5 separate regions of the Homo sapiens genome follow, and all the other regions are linked to region 2. Evidence: promoter capture Hi-C in 16 types of primary human blood cells and fetal thymus (Javierre and others, 2016). All regions are on one chromosome and are shown on one strand. The core of a region is centred on a gene start or on the middle of the fragment in contact, and the rest is flanking DNA. Distances in the headings are between cores, read along the strand shown.

Region 1 (4,760 bases), core at 1,212-3,711, 1.3 Mb after region 2:
ACCTTGGGGAAGTCAAGGAAGCTGTGTCAGCTTTCTAACTACCAGAAAATAGCCTCCTAGAAGACACAGACTTTATCCATTAGCCTGATTTTGTGAGTCACTTAGTGCCACCACATGTATCTATGGTATCTGCAGAGAGTCAGTAGTAGTGGTGGTGAAGAGAATATGCTTGGAGTGAGACAGACACTGGCTGAACCACTATCTATCTCACTGAGGGACTGTGAGCAAATGGCTCCACTTCTCTGAGCCACCTCTGCCATTTATAAAATCAGAAGCGATACCCCCAAGGTCAAAGGGAGCTGCGGGAACTCAGTGAGTTCCCAATCCCTGAGTGTTCACTCTGTAAACCAGCTACTTTGTGAAGCAACTTATAGGCATTATCTCATCTCACGTCACATCTACCCTCTGCAGTAGGTTCTATCATCCCCTTGCCAAATGAGAAAACCCTACCTCAGATTTAAATCTGTGACAGTGCCAGGATTCAGCCCTGGACCATCAGCCTGCAAAGTTAGCTCTAATATATTTATGTAATGCTTGGCTCAGTGTAAGTGCTTGGGAAACAGACTTCTATTTTGACATTGTAATGACTTGTGGTATCAGCTATCAACCAGCAGGATCAGCGACCCCTGGGGAAGGTGGTTAGAAATGCAGGATCTCAGCCGGGGCACGGTGGCTCACACCTACAATCCCAGCACTTTGGGAGGCTGAGGCAGGCGGATCACCTGAGGTCAGGAGTTCAAGACCAGCCTGGCAAACATGATGAAACCCTGTCTCTACTAAAAATACAAAAATTAGCCGGGCGTGGTGGTGCATGCCTGTAATCCCACCTACTTGGGAGGCTGAGGCAGGAGAATCACTTGAACATGGGAGGTGGAGGTTGCAGTGAGCCGAGACTGCGCCACTGCATTCCAGCCTGGGCGACAGAGCAAGACTTGGTCTCAAAAAAAAATTAAATTTAAAAAAAAAAAAGAAAGAAAGAAATGCAGGATCTCAGCCTCCACTCCAAAGCCCCTGAAACAGAATCTGCATTTTATCAAGACCCCACTGACCTAACACATTGAAGTTGGGATGCACTGACCTATAATTCTTCCTAGCTTCTCTATGTACAGTTACTCATTTCTACCTGAACAACCCAGTTTTCCACAAGAGGTTTGGGCGGTGAACAGTACATCCTGCCAATTCCTATGGAGGTTTATAAACGCTTTAAGTCATGGTGGGAAAGAGCAGGTCGCCAAATACACCCGTTTCCAGTGGGTTATTTAGACTAAGCTTCTCATCAGCGTCTTATCCTACTTTGCTTTTCAAGAGACGTTCATGTTGAACCAAAAAAGGAGACTTTAAAAAGTATTTTTCAGGGCAGAGCTGGGCAACAATGATATTGGGCATCAATCCACAAAGATGAACTAAGTCACTCAATTAGAGGAATGAAATCAAGCCTTTAATCCAACACCATAGCAGCGCCATCTGTGGAAATGTTAATTACCCTTCTAGCTCCAGCACCTTGTCTTCCAACACTCCATCATTACCTTGGCAGTGCTTTCCATACCAAGGGTATCAAAGGTGCCCTGAGGAAGGACATCCATACCTTTAATGCCCATGGCTAGCTTTAAACACTTCTGTAATCTATTTTATTGCGTTACAAATGATTTCCCTACATTTATTTGTCTTTTCTACCCTGGCAGGCTCAGCCTCAAGTCACTGAGGATGCCTCCTGTCCCAGTTAAGATTCTGGCTGTAAAACTGCCTGGCCAAACAATGTCTATCGCTTGTCAATAATTAGGACGCCAAATCACAGGTAAGGTGATGATACCCGTTCCCCACAGACGGAAAGGGAGCAGCTGTAAACGGATAATATTTCCCACTAGCCTAATGAAGGCTCCCAAACATCTGGTGGCTCTAGCAGAGAACAATGAGGCATCAATGCCAGTCACAGCCACTGTCAGAGAAAATGGTGTGCAGGTCCAAAAGCCGGCAGGCAGACTGGTACCAGATAAGGTACCACGGTGCTACTGGTCTCATTAAATAAGCACTTTCACAAGAACAAGACTATACTGCCTGAAGCTGCTGTTAGCTGCTGTTTTGGCATCCATTCTCACAAAAAAACATTTCTGAGCTGCTTTCAGAGGCCTTCAAGGAGCTCATTTCTTTTGCCAACTCTCTCTATGAGGAAGCTAACAGAAGAGAGATTTTTCAAAAGTCAGACCCCACCTTAGGCACAACCACATTCTCTTAAGTGTATCATGAGGATTGGAGCCAGAAGTCTGTGTCAGTCAGAAGGCCAAGCTGGTTCACAGCACCAGGAATATATAGAGGGGAACAAAGATCTTAACTGGCTACTTTTAATTTCAAAGTCAGCCCTGAGAACGTCCACAAAAACACTGCATGCATTTCCTACAGAACCCTGCTAAAATCAGACACACCAGAGCCCCAGCACTTTCCGAATTGTAAGAGTTAAATTTGGGGATGTACAGAAAGGCATGCCACCTCCATATCCAAGTGACAAACTCACCACTGACTTGCCTTGCAGTATTTGCCAAGTTCCAAAATAGCTAGTTCAAGCCAATTCCCTGTATCCTTCTAGGAATCATCAGTCTACATATGGCAACAGAAGAGTTGGCCCATATTGTTTCTCCCTGAAACCTGCCTACAACCTGCTGAGTTCCCATATGTGGATTACTAAATTCTAGAAGGTTAGAAAGGCATTGGCTCTGAGTCTCATGTAACTTTCCTACCTTTATGGGAAACTAGTTCAGTTTGGCTATCCTGTTGGAATCATATCAAATCTTTCTGAAATGTTCAGTAACACCTGGCAGGAGAGATCTAATAGCATAGAGGATATAGCCAAAAGCCTTTGTTCTTACATCTAGGTCAAAGGGAGACAATACCTTTTCTGTAATTAAGGCAGACTGGAAAAAAACAAAGCGAGGGATTCCCATCACCACAGAGGGACTTGCGTAAGCAATTTGGGAACATAACCAAGATACAAATGGCAGCAGACCCAGGAATTAAGTAGAGTCTAAGCCAGAGCTTGCAATTACTATTAAAGGTCTAGCAACTATTGAACATCTGTTATGCACAGGACACTGTACTAGGCACTCATATGTCTAACCACAATCCTGTGAGAGGGTATGATCAGCCCCATTTCATAGAGGAGAAAAGAGAAGTTAAGCAGCTTGACTAAGGTCACACAGCCAATAGAAGGTGGAGGAGGAACTCTGATCTATGAGGTCAAAACCCACTCTCCACCTTGCTCTGCTCTTGAAATGTAAGACAAAAGTAACTGGAACAGCCCTTCACACCCCCCCGCTCAGGGCCCCCAAGATCCCACCCCATAGGGCTTTCCTACCTCCAGTCAGTTCCATTGTCAGCTTTTCATTTTCAATCATTTTCTTCTTTTCTTCTAGCTCAGCAATCAGGTTCTCTTTCAGCTCAACCTTCTTGTCTTCAAATTCTTTCACTGCTGCCTTCTTTTCTTTAATGTAATTTCGTTCCACTTGTTCAGTCTGAGCAAAAGAGAAACACGGGCTGGGAGTACACAGCCCTGGGAGCCAGGGCTCCAACTCAAAGTCTAGCCCTGTCCTCAACTGCAAAGTGTGTGAGAGTTTCCCCCTCACACACACTTGCAGTAACAGTGTGTCTGAGAACAAGCTTTCCAGCGAGGGTATAAAATCAGACCCACGTGACTTTTGCTTATTTTTGAGTACACCTCACTTGCTACCCAGATATTTTTTCGCTTCCACATCCTATATTTTATACTAAAACACATTTCTCAAAGGTAGTAAATAATCGCTCATAAAGTTACAGCTTCAAAGGAAAATAGATTCTAGATAAATTGTGTATATTCAAAAAGTTACTATTATTTTTGATACAGCAAGACAAAAGAATGGAACAACATTTAGTAAGTGCCTGAACCCCAAAGTATACATATATTGATATTATACTAAGACAAAAATTGTATATGCCTCCGCTTTTCAAATCTCGCCATTGTGGTGACTGACATAGGGGCCTATGGTGGGCTAAGGATGTGAGTACCTCACTTGAGTGTACCTTCAGGCTGATCACGTGATCCTTCTGGCTGAGTGACTATGGGCACCACACTGATTTAAGGAAACTGGGTTCCAATAATGTGGCTCTGAAAAACCATGACTTTCTCAAAAAGTAACCCCCACACACATGCTAGCCACTCTGGGAGCAGTACATCATTCAAGATTCAGGCCCTCATCTCTGTATCACAGCACAGAGTCTGACACAGAACCAGCACTCAGGTGTCCATGGAATGAAAGGAAAAATTAGAAATCTGTCTTTTTTTACTGGCCCAGAGAGTTGCAGCTGTAAAACAGAACTGCTGAGCCAATTCAGAGATTGAACTGCTTCAAGGACCAATATCAAACTATTAGGCCGTTATAACTCAGAGACTTCCAAACAGCTCTAACACGGGATAGAAGTCAATAAGCAGTTAGGGATGAGTATTCCTTATTCCCCTGTGATAAGCAGAGGCTGCGCAACAACAAATGACCAGACAGGATGTCTGAGCTGAGACCAAATGTCCTTAAGTCAAACAGAACAGTGGTGAAGGCTTCCAAACTATCTACTTGGTGATAGAAGGAAAAGCCACCAGATCAGGACTGCAAGATTCCAGTCTCAGACAGGGCCTGCAAACCCAGAAGATCCGTGGTACTTACTTCCAGCTGGAGGAAGAGTTCTGCAAGAGATAAAAAGTGCAATTAGATTTGCTAGGCTGTGCCACCTTTCTAGACAGT
Region 2 (5,258 bases), core at 1,530-4,029:
CCTTCATCTCAAATACCGACCTCAGCTTATCCAAATGATGCCTGTATTCTTTGAATTCTAACAAGATCTACATATTAAATAACAGACTGGAATCACTTCACACTAAGGATAACTAATTATGACCAAAATAGCACCCTAGTGTAGTTAAAAGAATTCACGACTTTTTTGGTATCTGGGGATTTCAGTAACTTCTAATGAAGTGAGAATGGACGCTGCTTGAAATCATTCCCCATAGATGATGTGTGTGCTCAACATTTCCTGGAGGAGTTTTGGAATAGTAACAGAACAAATACTTCTGAAGAAAGTAGTTTTGATTCCTTTGGTGTCTTAAATAGCCTTCTTGGGACCAGGGACCAAAATTACCTCCTGGGGAAAGGACGTCAAGTCATTAGAGAAACATGATTCTAAAGTTCACTTTGCACACAGCTCTTCAAGAATGCAACAAATTCAGAGAGCAAGTTCAAACCACAGGTTGTAGGGCCACATAAAAGCAGCCTCTTTGTAGTCAGGCTCAAAACTAAGATCCAAAAGAAGGTGTGAGATGTGATCACCTCGCTCAACATGAGGACAAACACAGATGGAATGAGCTGCCAAGCAATTAAATGGATGATGATTAACATGAAATTGGATACTAACAGGGTATGTTGGGCAGAGGGCAGCTTTATCTTTCCTAAACCTACTTTGTTCCTTGAAACAATTAGTTCCTTTTGGACATAACACATAAATACCAGCTGCCAGAATCACTAAGTGTCCTTGGACTGAGCCCTGCGGCTGGAAATATCCACCATATGAAGGTGGTTAACAGGAGTGTGGTTGAAGCAGGAGTTAAGTCACCTGAGTTTTTGAATTTAAACAGGCTGCAGCAGGAAGAAAAATGTTTGCACTGGCCTGCTTAAGCACGATTAAGTCATATTTAAACAACACTAGAGAGAAGTTCAGTAGCTGCTGGCTGCCTCCTTCAGACAGACCCTCACCGCCCACTGACCTCTAGAAGCTGAAAGACTTTTCTATGTACGCTTTAAAAAAAAGCAGGGTGAGGCCGGGAGTGGTGGCTCATGCCTGTAATCGCAGCACTTTGGGCGGCCCAGGCGGGCGGATCACTTGAGGTCAGGAGTTCAAGACCAACCTGGGCAACATGGCGAAACCCCACCTCTACCAAAAATACACAAAATTAGCCAGGCATGGTGGCACACGCCTGTAGTCCCAGCTACTCGGGAGGCTGAGGCAGGATGGTTTGAGTCCGGGAGACGAAGGTTGCAGTGCCCCGAGATTGTGCTACTGCCCTCCAGCCTGGGCAACAGAGTGAGACTCCATCTCAAAGAAGGAAAAAAAAAAAATAAGTAGGGTGGGTTCAGTGGCTCACGCCTGTAATCCCAGCACTTTGGGAGGCCGAGGCAGGCGGATCTCCTGAGGTCAGGAGATGGAGACCATCCTGGCTAACACGGTGAAACCCCGTCTCTACTAAAAATATAAAAAATTAGCCGGGCGTGGTGGCGGGTGCCTGTCGTCCCAGCTACTCGGGAGGCTGAGGCAGGAGAATGGCGTGAACCTAGGAGGCGGAGCTTGCAGTGAGCCGAGATCGCGCCACTGCACTCCAGCCTGGGCGACAGAGCGAGACTCGGTCTCAAAAAAAAAAAAAAGTAGGCTGAACCGGCCAGCACCGTAGCTCACGCCTGCGATCCCAGCACTTTGGGAGGCCAAGGCATAAAGATTGCTTGAACCCGGGAGTTCGAGACCAGCCTGGAGAACATTGTGAGACCACCGTCTTTTTTATTTTTATTTATATTTTTTTTTTGAGACGAAGTCTAGCTCTGTCGCCCAGGCTGGAGTGCAGTGGCGCGACCTCGGCTCACTGCAAGCTGCGCCTCCCGGGTTCACGCCATTCTCCTGCCTCAGCCTCCCGAGTAGCTGGGACCACAGGCGCCCGCCACCACGCCCGGCTAATTAGTGAGACCACCGTCTTTTAAAAAATAAGTAGGGTGAATCAAAAGTGTTGGGCAGAACTAAACACCTCTGGCAACTGCCGTCAGCTGTTCCGCTCTACTTTCAGCTTGTATATGTACCTGGTTTGCCTCCAAAATGGATAAATTCCCAAACTAACTTTTACAAAAGCTCCAGTTTGTGTAAAGGTGAGGGAATTTGTCTCAAAGCAGTGCAATTAATTACACCTAAGAGAAAAGCAGAAGCTGGGGCTCAATTACTGTTAGCTCGACTCTGAATTAATTAAGAATTTGAAACTCTGTCCCAGAGCTGCTTTCTCCTTAATGATGTTAAACCAAGTGAGCACCTCCTCCCTCAGGGTGACTTTCTCATATTGGTAATTAGACACAGGTTCTTGGACCGCTAAGAGAACTCTTACAGGACCATCTGGCTTTTAAGTGCACCGGGTAATGTACCACCTCCCTCTCCGTTCTGGTGTTTTTCGAAAGGATGTGACGGGAATCTAGTGGAGGGTTCCTCTCCTCAACATTAGTCAAGGGGAATCGGGTTCCTCCACACCGCTCGCACCTTGATTTCCTCGGAGTGGAAGAGGTCGGCGTCTTCGGGGCTGTCCATCAGGATCTTGGGCCTGTCCCCGTCCTTGGTGCCCCCCGAGCTGTCCCTCCGGGGCGTCTTATGGCCACCATGCCGCTCCAGCGCGGCGCGCTCACTGCTGGTATTGCCCATGATGGGGGTCTGCGGGGACACAGGGAAGGCGGACGGCGCCTCACTGCAGGAAAGGGACCCTGAGCAAGGGACTCCCGGAACCGCGGGTCCCAAGGAGCCTGCGGAAGGAGTCGGAGCACCAGGACACCACGCCCCTCGGGCCGGGAGCCGGTTCCGGCTGAGTCGGCAGGGTTGCCGAGCTCTCGCAATCGCGCTTTACCTGCCCAGGCAAGCCGCGGCAAGAACGCAAGGGGCGCGAAGATAAACCGACACTTTCCCAACCGCTTCACCACCCCTCAGCGACTTCCGCTTCCGGCGACTCCGTAAGTCGGCCCGGCCTAGGGCGTGGAGGTGGCGGCGGCCAGCTAAACGCGCGAGGCTATCTCGATTCCATTTCCGCTTCCGGTCTTGAGCGGTGCGGTAACAGGTGCCCCGGGCCGTCTCTGCAGGCCTCGGAGCGCGCAGTCGCAGTCAGCAGCCGGCCGCCCAGGGCCAGGCCCAGGACGAGGCGCTGCCGAGGGCCGGCAGGGGGCACCCCAGCGCGCGGGCAATCTGAGCCGTTCATGCGCTGGGCTGAATAATGCCATTTAGCTATCTTTGCTCACTTATAGTTGATTCTACACTCTGCAGCCAGAGGGATCTTTCTAAAATGCAAATCTGATTCAGAAACTCCACTTCTTAAAGCCCTTTTAATGCACGTGTTCTCACGCTTTACAGTGCATTAGGTTAACCTGGAGCGCTTGTTAAATGCATCCCCCACTGCAGACCTGCAGAATCATGATTTCTACAGATTAGGGTCGGGGGTGCAGGCAGTCTTGCAGGTATTTGAAAAAATGGCAGACCATAAGATCTCTGGAAATTTCTTATGTCTAGTAGGTTGGGGGTTGTAAAATGCTGGAGTTATTCGTGTATTTTTATTGAGTGTGCAATCTTTTGATAGGTAATTTTGCAAGATATCTTGTAATCACTTCGGAAACATCCTTCTGCATAAGATGCATTAGCGTTTGTCATTTACTCTGGTCAGTGCTTCAACAAGAAGTGCATACAAATACGGTAGTAAAATATTCTCATCTTCTCATTGTCAGTCATTGTCATATTTTGTGGGTTTTTTGGTGTGTGAATATCTCAAAATACTTTGCATTTGCCGGGTCAGGTCATGCATTTCACCCACTGAACATTTATTTAGTACCTAAAAAAGTACCAGACATTGTGCTAAGGAAATGAGGAACACAAGATGACTAAGATAAGGTTTCCTGGGGGGAATTCAGCAGTATGCATCAAAATTTAAAAATGCACCTTCATTTTGACACACAATTTTACTCCTAGGAAACTTGTGCAGAAATACACACATGAAAATTATTTACAAGCATTATCTACAAAATATTTACATGCAAAAATATATTCTAAGATGCACTTGTCACCCCCCATGCCCCCATATATTTTAATTTCTGAAACTGGATGCTTTTTACAATAATGGAATCTTACACTTGGTGAAATAAGGAAATGAAAAACTACAAAATCCTAAAAGTTGTTCAGTAGGAGAATGGCAAAATGAATGGAATACATTCATTTTGTAGAATACCAAGCAACTTTTAAAAAGGGAGAAACCATTTTTAGGTCACTATGGGGAAGTGTCTATGATATTGCAAGGTCCGGAAGCAAGTGAGAGAACAAGTTCAAGGGCAGGAGCTCTGAATTCAGCCTGGCCATGTTCAGATTCTGGCTTTACCATTTAGTAACTGTCACCTTAGTCTCTTCTTTTGTGAAATGGGAACAAAAATAACACCTACTTCATAGGCTTGTTTTGTGAATTAATTGGGAACGTGCATAAAAATGCTGAGCATAGCACTTGACTCTTAGTAAACACTCAATAACTGTTAACACTTTTATTAGCACTATTAGGCTAGCAAATGGAAAGTTCTGGAAGGGTATACAACACATTGTTAATAGTGGTCTTCTGTGGGGAGAGGAGGGAGATTGCAAATAGGAGCAGACAGAAAAGGGACTTTCACTTTTCATTTATATAGTTCTGTATTTGAAAAGTTTTCTATTGTGAGGATGTACTACTTTTTAATTTAAAAAAATAAGATATGGTTCCAGCCCCAAAGGAATTAATACAGTACAGGCTGGCACCGACCCACAGAAAAGCAATAATATAGCTAGGTAAGGGATCCTGTGGGAGCCCAGAAGGGACTTAAGCCAGGCCAGGAAAAGGGATGGGAGCCAGGAAAAGGGATGGGAGCCAGGAGGGTCTTCCTGAAGCTGATGACTGAGAATTTGAATGTATTCAGTATAATCAGAAATGTTGAATGTGCTTGCTGAATTAAATAAGCTAAGATACTGTGGATGACCCAGGATATCTTCTTTGAGCTGCTTTTCTAATAGTGGCCCTGACTTGGTTACATGAGACAGTGGGGTGTTGAGTTTTGAAATCTCTCCCAAACAGCCGGAGAGATAAGAAAGAACACATGAGCTGTGGATTCTTTATCTGAGCTATGCAGATGCTTTGATGCATGAAGAAAGTTTTAAGACATCTGCACTAGCTTGAATAAGATAACAGTGAAAGCATGGGTGGCCCTTGATGTCAAATACAATCAACAATATCCTGAGGA
Region 3 (4,822 bases), core at 1,367-3,866, 1.3 Mb after region 2:
AATACAGAAGAGCAAATCTCCTACACCATCAAAATATCTGCACGAGTGAGATGCAAGCAGAAGGCTGGTAGCCTCTTGCTGGAATAAACTGTCTCAACTTGTGAGGGCTTCATAAGCACCCCTGACCTCGGGCCATCTAAAGGCATGCCGCTGGGAACAGGCATCAGCCTTGAACTCGTTTCTCAGCCATCTCTCTCACACCTGTGATTACGAAAATGGAAAGCACAGCAATCTTGGGTTCCATTTCTGCCTTGATCTTAAAGATGCTTTTAAATTTGGTTTGATTACTGTGTTATCAACACTCAAGAGACATCTATTCATAAACACAAACTTTCAAATTTGGAAGTATTTTCCTTGCTCCAAGGGACTTCCATATTATACAAACTTTCAATACTTTGGTTTCCTGGCAATGAAGGCTAATGGTTGTGCAGAAAAACAGGGAAAAAATATCAACAATAGAAAAATGCCCACTAATGAGCTAAGGCCCAATTAGGATCATGAGAAGGTTGAAGCACTTCCGAGAGTCCTTCCCTCCTCACCATATCCCCCTCTCACAGACAGTATTAGATTACAGTGCATTTTACAGGGCAGATGCATTCTTCCATTGAATTGAGAATGAACTCTTGCAACAGGGGACTGCCAGGGCTGACAAAGTGCACTCAATAAGGGGCATCCTAAAGCCATGGGTGAGAAGGGGAGCTGCTGCCAGTCACCTGACCCCCTGAGCCAGGGTTACTGAGCTCTGTGTGCCAGACACCATGCTGATCAGGCTGAGCTTTTTCACCCGCAAGACAACCCTATGAAATAACTACTATCATTGGCCCCATTTTAAAGAAGAGGAAACCAAAGCTCAGCAAGGCTGAGTCACTTATCACGACGTGAATTCTGGTGTCTGACATCAAAGCCCCTGGCTCTTCTCTACTAAAGCAGTCTCTGGCTTCTTCTTGCCTGTTTTTCTGTAACATGCAATTAAATAGAGCCAAAAGCACAGTTTTTTGAAAGGTCTGCATCTCACCCAAATATACAAGTTTACAGATTTATCTCCTCCTTCCTGGACTCAGTTTTCAGGTTTTAAAAAAGCTTATTCTGTTTCATCTCAATTTCTTTAATGTGATTATTCAGCAGTATCTCTACTGCTTTAAAGTCAAATACACTGGCTTAAAAATTTAAAAAGTTAAAGACCTCACATGAAGCTAAGCCTCCAAGGGACCTTGCAGAATCATTTTAAATGAAAAACTGATCCCAAGAAAAGCTAAGTCAGGGAGTCATCCACACACTCAGAGCTACCCACCAAACCTGCTTGGAGTCAAGCTATGCTAAAGCCAAGTAGCTCCAGTGTCACCTAGAATTTGATCTGAAAAATGAGCTGGAACACTTTCAAGAAATGAGAACGGTTTCCCCATTGCCAGAGTTGCATGTCTTCAGTGCACTGAAGCTTCTCCCCTCCAGAAGACGTGTTTCAGTGTCACCATTTGTCAGATCTCACTGACACTCTATTATGTCAAGACGCGACAATATTCGGCAGAGAGAGGGGAAAAACAATCTAACTTGCATTTATATTTTTCTGAAAAATCTTGAGGTATCATAGAGGAGAATAATGCACTGGTTCTGAAGTTAGGGTCAGGTACTAGAAGGCCACATGTGCTTGTGGAACAACCCAGACAGCCAGGTGCAAATGATTACCATGAAATCGTGACACCTCTTGGCTGAGGACCAGGTCTCTCTATTAGCTTCCCTGTTCTGGTTCTGACTTGGCTTGAGGGGACTCACACGGATCCTCAGCCCAGAGAAGAATGGCATTCATTTATCTAGAAGGCTCTCCCTAACTTCTAAGTAAACAATCATTTTGCAAACTAGTCACATTTCAGGGCATTTTCAATTCAGGAAGCTGGAAGAATAGAAGAGGCTTAAGTTACTTCATAATCCAGTTTCATTACATTTACTGTGCACTGGCACGAATAAGTTACAGAGGGCAGACACATAGAAATCAATTTCTTTGCAGACATTTGTGGACTGATAAAAGATCAAGCCAATCCAGCTATTAAAGTTTTTAACTTTAACTAACAACATAAGTTACACATTGCTTATATACTCCTCATGAAAGACCACTTGGAGAACTCAGAGGGCAGTCATATCATCCTCAGGTATAACCCTCTGAGCTGACTTTAAAACCAGACCCCATCCATCCTAAAGGAGTGTCTCGAGGAGACCAAAAACCAAGGGCATAACCCTGGCAACTTGTTTTGAAGCACAATAGGACATCTCAGCTAGGAAAGACGGCAGGCAAGTGGCGTGTGGGTCGTTTCAGGCCAGCACTCACTTAGTGAGCACTTACTGGGTGCTAGACCCTGTGCCAGGTGCCTCATTCAATCCTCACAGCAAGAAACAAATCTACTGGTATGTGTGAAAGTTCTAGAGAAACAAAACCAAGATGGAGTATGCTCCACAGTCAAGCTCCATTCTCAGTAGATGGTTACCTTAAAAAGAAGCAGGAGTTGGCCAGGTGTGGTGGCTCACGCCTGTAATCCCAGCACTTTGGGAGGCCGAGCTGGGTAGACCACGGGGTCAGGAGTTCAAGACCAGCCTGACCAACGTGGTGAAACCCCATCTCTACTTAAAAAAAAATACAAAAATTAGCCGGGCGTGGTGGTGGGTGCCTGTAATCCCAGCTACTCAGGAGGCTGAGGCAGGAGAATCACTTGAACCTGGGAGGTGGAAGTTGCAGTGAGCCAAGATAGCACAACTGTACTCCAGCCTGGGCAACAGAGTGAGACTCTGTCTCAAAAAAAATAAAAATAAAAAAAAAGAAGCAGGAGTTGAATGTACAGACACCACACAGACTTGCTTTTTGTTCTTTCCTGGAATCTAGCTCCGTGGTTCCCAAATCAGTAGCTGTACCGGGAGTTCACAAATACCCCATGGAATAGACAAATCCGCATATGTTGTAGTCAAGCGAATGTAAGGACTTTTCAAGGATGATTTTGACAATGTGCAATTTCTGCCTGACTTTAGAATCTAACCCACATAGAAGACAGTACTCCACTGTACTTCCTTGGTGGCACTTTCATTTCAGGTTTGCCCTACCAACACTTCGCAGTACACATTTTGCTTCCCTAAAGGTGAGGGAGTGTGGTTCCCACCTCATTGGCTCCTACAGAACTGATCACGCAGCTCAGTTTCTGGTTGTCCTTTGACTCCAGATAGATGGCCTGGCTCTTGTGGTACCTGACAAAAACAAGGCACACATTTTTAAAAAGGGAGGGACAGAGACAGGAAGTAAAAACCAAACAAAACAAAAACACCATCACAACAAAAATTATAATTAAAGAAGTCTTAATAATTCACATTTGAGGAATAGCCTGGATTTCCCATTTAGCTTAATTTAAAGGCTTCCATCCTGAGGCCAGGCGCGGTGGCTCAAGCCTGTAATCCCAGCACTTTGGGAGGCCGAGGCAGGCGGATCACAAGGTCAGGAGATCAAGACCATCCTGGCTAACACGGTAAAACCCCGTCTCTACTAAAAATACAAAAAAAGTAGCCGGGCATGGTGGCAGGTGCCTATAGTCCCAGCTACTTGGGAGGCTGAGGCAGGAGAATGGTGTGAACCCGGGAGGCGGAGCTTGCAGTGAGCCGAGATGGCGCCACTGCACTCCAGCCTGGGCGACAGAGCAAGACTCCATCTCAAAAAATAAATAAATAAATAAATAAATAAATAAAATAAATAAATAAATAAATAAATAAAGGCTTCCATCCTTAGGTTAGAAGACCACCTAATCTTCTTTGGGATCTAAAGCTTATATTCCTTGGTCCCTCTACAGAAGGGAAAAGGCTGAGGAAAGTGTTGGAAAACTATGTATTTTTCCCTTTTTTTGGACTATATGACCCAGTTCAAAAAGTAAATTAAAAATTGTTAAATAAAAACTCTGTTTCCCCTTTCTGACCCCACACCAGAACACTGAAGAAGGTTGGACAGACAAAATATACAGGCATAAGCCACCGTTATTTATTTTCTATTTGTCCAAGTCAGTCACCAACAAGAAGGAAGGCTGACTTTAACCCTTTAGTCAGTCATTCAAAAATACTCATTAAGCACTTACTGTGTACCACGGACTATGCTGGAGGCTGGGGACAAACAGTGAGAAAGGCCACAAGTTCTCCACTATCACAGAGATTCAAATACACTGGGGATAAGGAACATTAAATAACCACACCTGGTAACAGCTAATCAGGCAAAGTTCCAAGTGCCATGACGTATACCAAAGGGTATCTAATTTGGCCTGGACAGTTGGGAAAGCTGCTTTGAATACAGTAGATAAGACAGACACTCCCCTTTCAACTCCTGCATCTACTCTCAACCTGTAGTGTAGGGCCACTTCTTATTTCTACAAGTTCAGAGACAAGGCCAAGGATGAAAGTGAAGTTGCTGGGGGCCAAAGCCCAAATGGGACAAAAGCAGCTGCCACAGGATGAAGGAGCCCCTGCTGGATTACAAGAGTTGGAAGTATCAGCGGAGCTGCAGCTAGCAACCCTGGCCTGGGCCAGCCCCACGTCGATTAATAACATAAACTTTGGTTCATTTTGGCTGCAAAGATCTGGCTAACCAGACCCATAAACTCGTGTAAATTTAGTAAAACACATCTCCCAGCAAAGCATGATGGCTTATTCTGTTTTGCTGGTATAAGGAAATAACCTATTGCCAAGACATGGCAAGTAAAGGATGCACTTCACTCCCATAATGAGCTTTTTCCAGTCTAGGGTCTCAATTCTCTTTAACCTGCTACTTATGAACTGAAAACTCAGGTTTCCAAGTCAATGTACTTTC
Region 4 (4,931 bases), core at 1,503-4,002, 1.6 Mb after region 2:
AATTAGCCAGATGTGGTGGCGCATGCCTGTAGTCCCAGCTACTTGGGTGGCTGAGGCAGGAGAATTGCTTGCACCCAGGAGGTGGAGGTTGCAGTGAGCCAAGATTGCGCCACTGCACTCTAGCCTGGGCAACAGCGCAAGACTCTATCCCGAAAAAGAAAAAAAAAAGAAATGTATAGTCTGAAATGCAAAGTCTGGCTGGGTAGGCAAGCTAGTGAGCTGGTGATAAATAAACTATAGCATGGACTCTAAATGCAGTCATTAATTTAGGTCTTTAGCAGGAGGGAGAGGACTTTACCTGGGTCTTCCAAAATGAGGAAGGGGAGAGATTTTGGTAAGTAGAGCAGAATGAGGGCATTTCAGAAAAGGAAAAACATTTGTCTACCTGCTGTAAGGGGACATGAAATGGTAGATGCCTGGGACAATATGGTCACCTGCCCAAGGAGCAGGGGAGTAATAAACCAGCATGAGATACCATCATCTGAAGCAATTTGTGGCAGCATCTCTGCGGTTACCACACCATCACCTCATTACTTCACCAAGCTGTAATTTTCCATATTACTAATGGGGTTGCAAAGAATCTAGTGTTTCCTATTCAGTGAGGGCTGAAGTTGGGAAAAATAAGAAATCTTCTTGATTATTTTTCCCCTTTGGAAATTAGGGGACAAAACATGGATGATGTCATGGTTTTGGTGGATTCAGAAGAGGAAGAGGAGGAGGAGGAGGAGGAGGAGGAAGATGCTGCAGTAGGGGAACAGGAGGGAGCACGTGAGAGAGAGGAGTTGCCAAAAGAAATACCTAAGCAGGACCACATTCACAGAGTGACCGCCTTGGTGAATGGGAACATAGAACAGATGGGAAATGGATTCCAGGATCTTCAAGGTAAGCTCTTTTTCCTTAAACAAACAAACAGAAAACAAACAAAAAAAGGCGCGTTGGCTCACGCCTATAATCCCAGCACTTTGGGAGGCCAAGGTGGGAAGATCACTTAAGCCCAGAAGTTCAAGACTAGCCTGGGCAACATGGTGAGACTCTGTCTCTACGAAAAAAAAAAAAAAAAAAAAGAAAAATTAGCCGGTCATGGTGGTGTGCACCTGTGTTCCCAGCTACTTGGGAGGCTGAGGATCACTTGAGTGTAGGAAGTCCAGGCTGCAGTGAGCTATGATCACACCACTGCACTCCAGTCTGGGCAGCAGTAGGAAACCTGCCTCAGAAAAAAAAAAAAAAAAAAAAAAGCCCACAAACCTCTGAACTGCTGCGGTGAGCTTCCCAGCAGGAAATCTCTAAGGGGTGAGTTTAGTTTTTTTAAAAGGCTGGGGAAGATAGCTAAACTTTAGTCTAGAACCTGAGACTACTATCAACTACCAACATGAAAATCAAATTGACAAACACTTATCAAGGTCCTGGTCTAGGGTAGGCACAATATTGGCATTGTGGGAGAACAGAAAATAGAGACTGGTAGTGTCTGCATGCAGGGAGCTTTACAAGACCAGTTCAGGCCAGGTGCGGTGGCTCACGCCTATAATCCCAGCATTTTGGGAGGCTGAGGCAGGTGGATCATTTGAGGTCAGGAGTTTGAGACCAGCCTGGCCAACATGGTGAGACCCCCATCTCTACTAAAAATACAAAAATCAGCTGGGTGTGGTAGGTGCCTGTAATCCCAGCTACTTGGGAGACCAAGGCAGGAGAATCACTTGAACCCGGGAGACGGAGGCTGCAGTGAGCCGAGATCGTGCCACTGCACTTCAGCCTGGGTGACAGAGTGAGACTCTGTCTCAAAAAAAAAAAAAAAAAGGCCAGTTTAGGGGAACAAACTAAAACCTGCAGGGGAAATGGAAACAGGAGCAAGATTGAACCAACACACTGAGAGAGCAGTAGAGGAGCTGTTGCAGGAAGATATTTGATTAATTGCCTGATGGACAACACATTTAAAAATTATAGGCACGGTTGCTCATGCCTGTAATCCCAGCACTTTGGGAGGCCAAAGTGGGTGGATCGCTGGAGCTCAGGAGTTCGAGACTAGCCTTGGGAACATGGCAAAACGTGTCTCTACTAAGAATACAAAAAATTAGCTGGGTGTGTGGCATGTACCTGTAGCCCCAGCTACTTGGGAGGCTGAGGTGGGAGAATCACCTGAGCCTGGGAAGTTGAGGCTGCAGTGAGATGAGATCGTGCCACTGCACCAAAATTTATAGGACCTCAGAGAAAGATAAGAGCCCGGAGAGGTGTGCTGGTCAGGGGAAGCTTTATGGAAGAGGTAGACATGAAGCAAGGCGTTAAGACGGCTGAGTTGGAATAAGCAGAAAGGAGAGAGGGCGTTTCAGGTGAGGGGAGGGGCGTGAGCTGAGGACATGAAGGGTGACTGGTATCAAGCATGCCTAGAGGTTCTGAATGTAGAAAACAGGTGAAAAGGGGAAAACACACGCTGCCCTACCTTCTCCATGAGATCCCATTCTGTGGCTCACCAGGAAAGGACTAGAAATCACTGAGATGATTGATGACTGACGGTGGAAATAGAATCACACTCTGATTACAAAGCATTGGGTTTATTTCCCCCCATACAGATGACAGCAGTGAGGAGCAAAGTGACATTGTTCAAGAAGAAGACAGGCCAGTCTGAAGAAGAGGATGGTCCATGGTTGTCTTGCTCTGAAAGCTTGGAGAGCTACATTGAAGACGAGCTCTTCATTCAGCTTTGACTCCACCTGCACCCCTGGCGGGGGCTTGCACTAACAATGTTTGGGTCTCAGCAAAAAACAAAACCAAGCACACACATCTTTCCTTCCATGTATTGAAAAACATTGGTTTGATTTGCTCTAAGTTTTCCCAATGATGTTTAAAAGCTTTGAGAAGGAAAGCTGCTTTGGTGTCTGAGGTGCCACTTCTGCTGTGAATCCTGGCTTTATCCAGGTTGATCTACTGTGATAGATGCTGATTTAGAGGGAACAGAGGTCAGGGAAGCACTGGGTCTTGGTGCCTTTTGCCGCTTTTTTTTTTTTTTTTTTTTTTTTTTGAGACGGAGTCTCCCTCTATTGCCCAGGCTGGAGTGCAATGGCACGATCTTGGCTCACCACAACTTCTGCCTCCCAGGTTCAAGCGATTCTCCTGCCTCAGCCACGGCACCTTGCAAATATCAGCTCCTTGGAACAGGTGAAGTTCCAGGTACCAATGCCAATCAGAGGAAGGCAGTTTGGTTCAGGCTTTGGAGTTAGAAACACCTGAAGTTGAATCTGGGCTCTGTTGCTTCCTTCTTTCATGGGCTAGAGCACGACTCTTTACCTCTCTCTTGGCCTCAATTTCCTCACCTGTAAAATAGATGAGGAAGCTGCTCACTTATTATTGTCTCGTTCTGAAAGCTTGGAAAGCTACATCGAAGATGAGCTCTTCATTCAGCTTTGATTTGACCTGTACCCCTGGTGGGGGATTGCACTGGCAACATTTGGGTCTCAGCAAAAAAACCAAGCACACACATCTTTCCTTCCATTTATTGAAAAACATCTTTGTAAGATCCATTCATTGAAAAACATAATCCATTTATTGAAAAATATCTTTGTAAGATCACCTGCTAAATATGAAAATCTGACTTGAATTTGTACTCTTTAAAGTTGCGTATCTGCTCTAGTGGGCAGGACCTAGGGCTTAAAGGGGAACTTCCTTTCTCCATTTCTAAGAACTGGGACTCTAAAATGAGAAGCTGGTTGTCTGAAGTAACCCTGCAGGTGTGGTTGGGGAAGGTCTGTTTTCTTGGATGAAGGAACTAAACTAAGCATATCAGAGCACTGTCTTAACCAGTTTTATTTCCCTGGAGATAGAATTCTTTTAAAAAGAGTTAGGGAGCTGGTAATAGGAAGTGCCTTTCATTATAACTACATTTTGCAGAGCTTCATATTTATATACAAGCCTCCTAGGTGATACACTGTTAGCTTGCAGACTTTCCTATGCTTCATTTCTCCTGTTGCTTTCAAAGAAGGCAGGAGACACGTTTAATAACGGAGTATCTGGTGATAAGAATTGCTTGGGCAAACCAGCTCATCTGGACTCTTTCTCAGTCTTGGAAGTGGGAAGAGGAAAACTTGTTTCCTTCCTGCTTCTTAAGGATATTCTGAGGGTACACTGATCAATAACACTAAATTTGGAATGAAAATACCATGTGATGAGTTTAGCCTGCTGATGCTTCCAGTAGATCCTTGTATAGTTTCAAGATTTAAGTTTTCCGATTTCATATAAATTTCTTAAAGTCGAGGACCTTATAAGGGTGCAATGGATGTTTGCTAAATATGAAAAACTGACTTGAATTTGCACTCTTTAATGTTGCGTATCTGCTCTAGTGGGCAGGACCTAGGGCTTAAAGGGGAACTTCCTTTCTCCAATTCTAGGAACTGGGACTCTAAAATGAGAAGCTGGTTGTCTGAAGTAACCCTGCAGGTGTGGTTGGGGAAGGTCTGTTTTCTTGGATGAAGGGATTAAACTGAGCAAATCACTAGAAGTATGCCCTGTCCCCTGCTCAGAACACTGGGGAGCTCAAGAGTGGGCTGCAATGTGCACCCCTCAGGAATAGCTGTGAATTGCAGGTCTACTGGCTTTTTGCTTTTTGTCTTTTGCTGCAAGGTACCCCACGTACTTAACCATTCTCAACAGTGTAAATCAGTGTCATTTTAGAATGAGATACTCAGCTTGCTTCTAAAGTCACTGAATTACTGAGTGAGTCTCTCCTTTAGAGTCTTCGGCAACCAAATTCCAGAATTGAAGAGTCTACTACTCAGAGGCAACAAGATTAAAAAAAGAAAACACAAAAACTGTTGAGGTGAAAAAAAAAAAAAACCCTAGCTAGGAACACAGAGAATGTTTTGTAGGATCACTGGGATATTTTCCACAACTTCCTCTTCTCTAGCACACACATCTGTTGATAGGAAATATTTGAGGGTTTTTCC
Region 5 (4,712 bases), core at 2,056-4,555, 1.3 Mb after region 2:
TAGCTAAATACGGAATTTTTAAAGTCTTTAGTATGTTGAACTGGAAATATAGGACATGCGTTTGAGATCTACTGTGAGTAAGTGTCATTGGTATTTTATTTTACATTTAATGTTGATTATAAATATGGTTTGTGTCTAAACACTGTTAAAAAAAATGAGTAAACTCTGTTGAATTTCATGTGAAATATTTATGGCCTTAGCTCAAAGTCCAGCTGAGAGTAATCAACCTCAAAAGTCATTGGATTCATGTGCTCTATTTAATTTAATTTGTAGTTTGATATTCCACAAATAAAAGTGGCAATTTTTCAAAAAAATTTAATTTTTTTCTTTCTCCTGAATAACTAAGGTAAATGCTGAGCATGAAATACAATACCAATATTTTGTCGGAAGAGTCTTTTAAATAAAAAACTTGAAATATACTGAAGGTCATCTTAAATGGATACAGTTTATGCTAATGGATGATATTATTACTTTAAAACAATATTTTACAATCAAGCTACTCCAAGTGGCACACTATTCATCCTAGAGATCTTTAAAAGTAACAAGCCTGCCTCCTATTTTTCTTCATTCACAGAAAGGGAAAATAGTATAGAAAGCAGAGCTGTTTCTTGAATGTAATACCAAATTTAGAGACAGAAAAGTCAGAGGGTTTGGTCACATTTATTTTGTTTTGTAACTTTTTAAATCAATTTAATACATAGAGTTAGCTACTTATGAAAGTATAAAAATAAAACATGTTGGCCATTCGGTTATTAACAATTTATGTGACTACTATAGTCCATAAAATGAATTTAGTTTAAGTAGGAAAACAGATACTTTTTTTTTGACATGTCATCATTTGTATGTTAAAAAGTTAATGCAAAATATGTTATAAATCAGGAAAGCTACCTTAATAATTTCTTTACCAACTTCACTAGTCTCTTGGAATGAGGTTTAAATAAAATGCATAGGCTAACATGTGACTGTCATATCCAAACTCATAATACTGTGCAGGTTAAATGTGTAAATTAAGTCTTATAATTATGCATAGGATGTTTTCATTTAAGAAGCATTGCAGTGGATATTACTAATGGGGGCGCTATTCTTTCTAATGTATGAAAAAGGAAATTTTAAGTGTCAAATAATCTTTAAAATGTGATGTCATATAGCACGTTCTTTTTCCTTAAGATTTATGCATGTTTAAAACTTAAAAGTACAAATTATGTTAATTTCAGCTTTCATTGAGAGGCCTTTTATGATTGTCTGAATGTTATATTAGCAGTCCAGAAATATCCCAGTCATAGCTTGGATGGGGGTGAAGCAGAGGAAGTGGGTGGTGCTTCGTGATGACAGATTATTGCAGATTATATGGCTGCCTGCCAAAATGACACTCGTTGAAGGGAAAAGTAGAAGTTACAAACTCCATCCTATTAATTTGTACATGTTTATTTAACCACTTATAACTGTTTGCTTGTTTTATACATAGATGACAAGTTTTAAACTCCTGAATTACTTAAAACGTGCTTAACCTTCTCTAGTTTATTGTGGCTATATTCCTTATCTCTGATCTGCAAAGATCACACTGACCCTTTTGTGGAAAGCCACGTGTTAGCAGAAAAAAGATGGGGGAAGGATGACAGAATTTAAAACTACAGCTGCTTTGTTTTCCAGTTAAAAATAGTTCTGAGTTAAAAACGTAAGGATGTCCCATCACATGTGGACAATTTATATAAAATATAGCATACTAATACAAATAATCATGTCTTATGAAAAAGTTTATAGTTCTAGATTGTTCTGGTTTAGCTTGAAATTGAGATTCTTACTGTTGCAACATAAAAGGAAGCTTTGTGAAGGAAATATGACATCTCTGCCCAGATGCATAAGGAGGGAATTACAGTGGGGAGTTATTTTTAGAAGTATCTTATGAATACATTTCATGTACTGAGAACATTTTTTAAAGGTTAGTTTCACTGGTAGGAGTTATGCAAGTTGCTCGGGTCACTGGATATTCTATTAAGAAATCATTTTTATGTTACCAACCAACCTAGTTAGTCTTAAACTGGCTGATCTAAGTAGTAGCTTGCTTGTTTATTTAGAGACAGAGTCTCACCCTGTCACCCAGGTTGGTGTGCAGTGGCACAGTCATAGCTCACTGCTGCCTTGAACTCCTGAGCTCAAGTGATCCTCCTGCCTCAGCCTCCCCAGTAGCCGAGACTACAGGCATGTGCCACCATGCCTGGCTAATTTTTTAAAGTTTCTTTTTTTTTGTAAAGAGGGAGTCTTGCTGTGTTGCCTAGGTTGGTCTCAAAATCCTGGCCTCAAGAGATCCTCCTGCCTCTGCCTCCCAAAACTCTGGGATTACAGGTGTGAGCCACTGCACGTGGCCATATCATTTTTTTTTAATGTGACCAAATTGAGGCCGGGCATTGTTGCTGACGCCTGTAATCCCAGCACTTTGGGAGGCCGAAGTTGGAATATCACTTGAGGCCAGGAATTTGAGACCACCCTGGCCAACATGGTGAAGCCCCGTCTCTACTGAAAATACAAAAATTAGCTGGGCGTGGTGGTGTAAGTCTGTAATCCCAGTTACTCGGAAGGCTGAGACATGAGAATCACTTGAACCTGGGAGGCGGAGGTTGCGGTGAGCTGAGATTGTGCCACTGCACTCCAACCTGAGCGACAGAGCCGGACTCCATCTCAAAAAAAAAAAAAAAAAAAAAAGAAAGTGACCAAATTGAGAAGATATTGAGATCCTGTCAATACCATCAAATAGTAATGCAAGTTATCCTACTAAAAGAGGGGAGGGGACAGTTACATTCCCAGTGCATAGTAGTGTCCCATTCTCCTTCAGGAATGGAATGCCATGTTTTCAGTTCAAGGAAAGGTTGGAAGTGAGTCAAGGAAGCTATCATTTGTATCACACAATTCTTAGAATTGATGCCCTTCCCTAATTCTTTTACATGATCAGCAGCATATCCAGGTTTCTGGTATTTCTTACTTTCAGTTTCTGTCACATAGGTTTGGGATTGGCAGGATAGTTTAATGTTTAATAAGAGTGTGGCAGATAAACATGTCTGCCACCTACTAGCTTTGTGACTTTGCACAAATCCCTTAACCTCCCCGAAACCTCAGTTTCTTCTTCTGTAAAATTGATATAATTATAATACCTACTTCACAGGATTGTTGTGAGGATTAAATGAAATAATGTATGAAAAGCATAATTTTGGCCACACACTGTAAAGGAAGAGCTCAGTGTGCAAGAATAGTTATGCTTATTTTTGCCATTTTTGGATATTTCAGTTCTCATTCATAGCTTCACCAGAAAGTGATCATGGAAAGAGATACAACAACACATGGCATTATGTATAGATAATAAAATCAGCGTTATAATAATAGAAGTATTTAGAAAGTACCAGGGAACACAGGGATGAAATCCACCGATCTTATTTATGCCCTTCCTCTTACCACATTGTGTACTACCCATTCCAAGGGGATAGGAAGAAGGAGACAGGGATCGACTGTAGATTTAATAATTATTCATCAAAATGATTATATAATCTGACAAATTTCACTTTAGTAACATTTTTCATTTTGTTTCAATTGAGATCATTTCCTCCCAATTTGATGGAACAGCCCGGGAAACAACATGGTGAAGTGTTGATTTCTTAAAATGTTATTTTCTCAGCAGAGTGTGTTTGTTTTCTTCTGAGTACACCACTCAGATAAAGTTAGGACTGTGTCTTAAGATTTTAGATCAGCTAAAAAAATTTTTTTTGTTTTGGTGACAATAGAACATAGATATTTACATGTATATTTGAATACAATAGTCCCCTCTTATCCTGTCTTGCTTTCTGTGGTTTTAATTACTCATGGTGAACTGTGGTCTAAAAATACTAAAGTGGAAAATTGCAGAAATAAACCATTCATGAGTTTTATTTTATTTATTTATTTTGGGACAGAGTCTCACTTTGCCACCTAGTCTGGAGTGCAGTGGTGCGATCATAGCTCACCACAGCCTCAGCCTCAAACTCCTAGACTCAAGGGACCCTCCTGCCTTGGCCTCCCAGATAGCTAATTAAAAAAAAAAATTGCAGAGACAGGATGTATTAGTCTGTTTTCACGCTGCTAATAAAGACATCTGAGGCTGGGTAATTTATACAGGAAAGAGGTTTAATGGACTCACAGTTCCACATGGCTTGGGAGGCCTCACAATCATGGCAGAAGGCAAGGAGGAGCAAGTCATGTCTTACATGGATGGCAGCAGGCAAAAAAGAGAGCTTGTGCAGAGAAACTCCCCCTGATAAAACCATCAGATCTCATGAGACTGTATCACAAGAACAGCACGGGAAAGACCCACCCCATGATTCACTCACCTCCCACCGAGTTCCTCCCACAATGCTTGGGAATTGTGGGAGCTACAATTCAAGATGAGATTTGGGTGGGGACATAGCCAAATCCGGTCTGGCCTCAAGTGATCCTCTGGCCTTGGCCTCCCAAAGTGCTGGGATTACAGGCATGAGCCACTGTGCCTGGCCCCATTCATGAGTTTTAAATTGCTTACCCTTTTGAGTAGTGTGATGAAATCTCCTGCTGACCTACTCCTTCTAGCCAGGGAAATGAATTATCCCTTTATCCAGCCTATCCACACTGTAGATGCTACGTGCCTATTCGTCACTTAGTAGCTGGTTGTCTTGGTTATCAGATTGACTGTTGTGGTACCTCAGTGCTTGTGT

Evidence for each region. The method cuts DNA at HindIII sites, captures the fragments that hold promoters and counts their contacts. A CHiCAGO score of 5 or more calls a contact.
Region 1: a contact is called between a fragment that was not itself captured here and the fragment with the promoter of PRKAB1 in region 2, in 2 of 17 cell types (total CD8 T cells and naive CD8 T cells). The highest score is 6.1, in total CD8 T cells.
Region 3: a contact is called between a fragment that was not itself captured here and the fragment with the promoter of PRKAB1 in region 2, in 1 of 17 cell types (naive CD8 T cells). The highest score is 6.8, in naive CD8 T cells.
Region 4: a fragment that was not itself captured here is called in contact with the fragment with the promoter of PRKAB1 in region 2 in 1 of 17 cell types (total CD8 T cells); the score reaches 6.4 in total CD8 T cells.
Region 5: a contact is called between a fragment that was not itself captured here and the fragment with the promoter of PRKAB1 in region 2, in 2 of 17 cell types (naive CD8 T cells and total CD8 T cells). The highest score is 6.3, in naive CD8 T cells.

The regions. Positions count from the first base shown.
Region 1 is chr12:118,389,869-118,394,628 of GRCh38, reverse strand. It overlaps SUDS3 (SIN3A corepressor complex component SDS3), which reads right to left. Exons shown (of 12, transcript NM_022491.3): 5 at 4,683-4,702; 6 at 3,347-3,503. Among named protein-coding and RNA genes, the nearest start is that of SUDS3, 16 kb to the right of the region's middle. The HindIII fragment of the contact is 2,379 bases long and covers 1,272-3,650 here.
Region 2 is chr12:119,665,654-119,670,911 of GRCh38, reverse strand. PRKAB1 (protein kinase AMP-activated non-catalytic subunit beta 1) reads right to left here and starts at 2,779. Exons shown (of 7, transcript NM_006253.5): 1 at 2,509-2,779. The coding sequence starts at 2,667. It overlaps PRKAB1-AS1 (PRKAB1, TMEM233 and CCDC60 antisense RNA 1), which reads left to right and starts at 2,785. Exons shown (of 3, transcript NR_188494.1): 1 at 2,785-2,969. RefSeq lists enhancers at 1,449-2,084, 2,523-2,932, 5,067-5,211, a silencer at 3,033-3,302 and a cis regulatory region at 5,130-5,147. The HindIII fragment of the contact is 11,826 bases long and covers 1-5,258 here.
Region 3 is chr12:118,409,476-118,414,297 of GRCh38, reverse strand. It overlaps SUDS3 (SIN3A corepressor complex component SDS3), which reads right to left. Exons shown (of 12, transcript NM_022491.3): 11 at 3,141-3,225. Among named protein-coding and RNA genes, the nearest start is that of SUDS3, 35 kb to the right of the region's middle. The HindIII fragment of the contact is 2,358 bases long and covers 1,438-3,795 here.
Region 4 is chr12:118,064,328-118,069,258 of GRCh38, reverse strand. It overlaps VSIG10 (V-set and immunoglobulin domain containing 10), which reads left to right. Exons shown (of 9, transcript NM_019086.6): 8 at 662-882; 9 at 2,565-4,931. The coding sequence ends at 2,620. The region is part of intron 1 of LOC124903030 (a long non-coding RNA gene); the gene reads right to left. Among named protein-coding and RNA genes, the nearest start is that of WSB2, 5.6 kb to the right of the region's middle. The HindIII fragment of the contact is 187 bases long and covers 2,659-2,845 here.
Region 5 is chr12:118,354,284-118,358,995 of GRCh38, reverse strand. All of the region lies in intron 1 of TAOK3 (TAO kinase 3), which reads left to right. Among named protein-coding and RNA genes, the nearest start is that of TAOK3, 16 kb to the left of the region's middle. The HindIII fragment of the contact is 2,961 bases long and covers 1,825-4,712 here.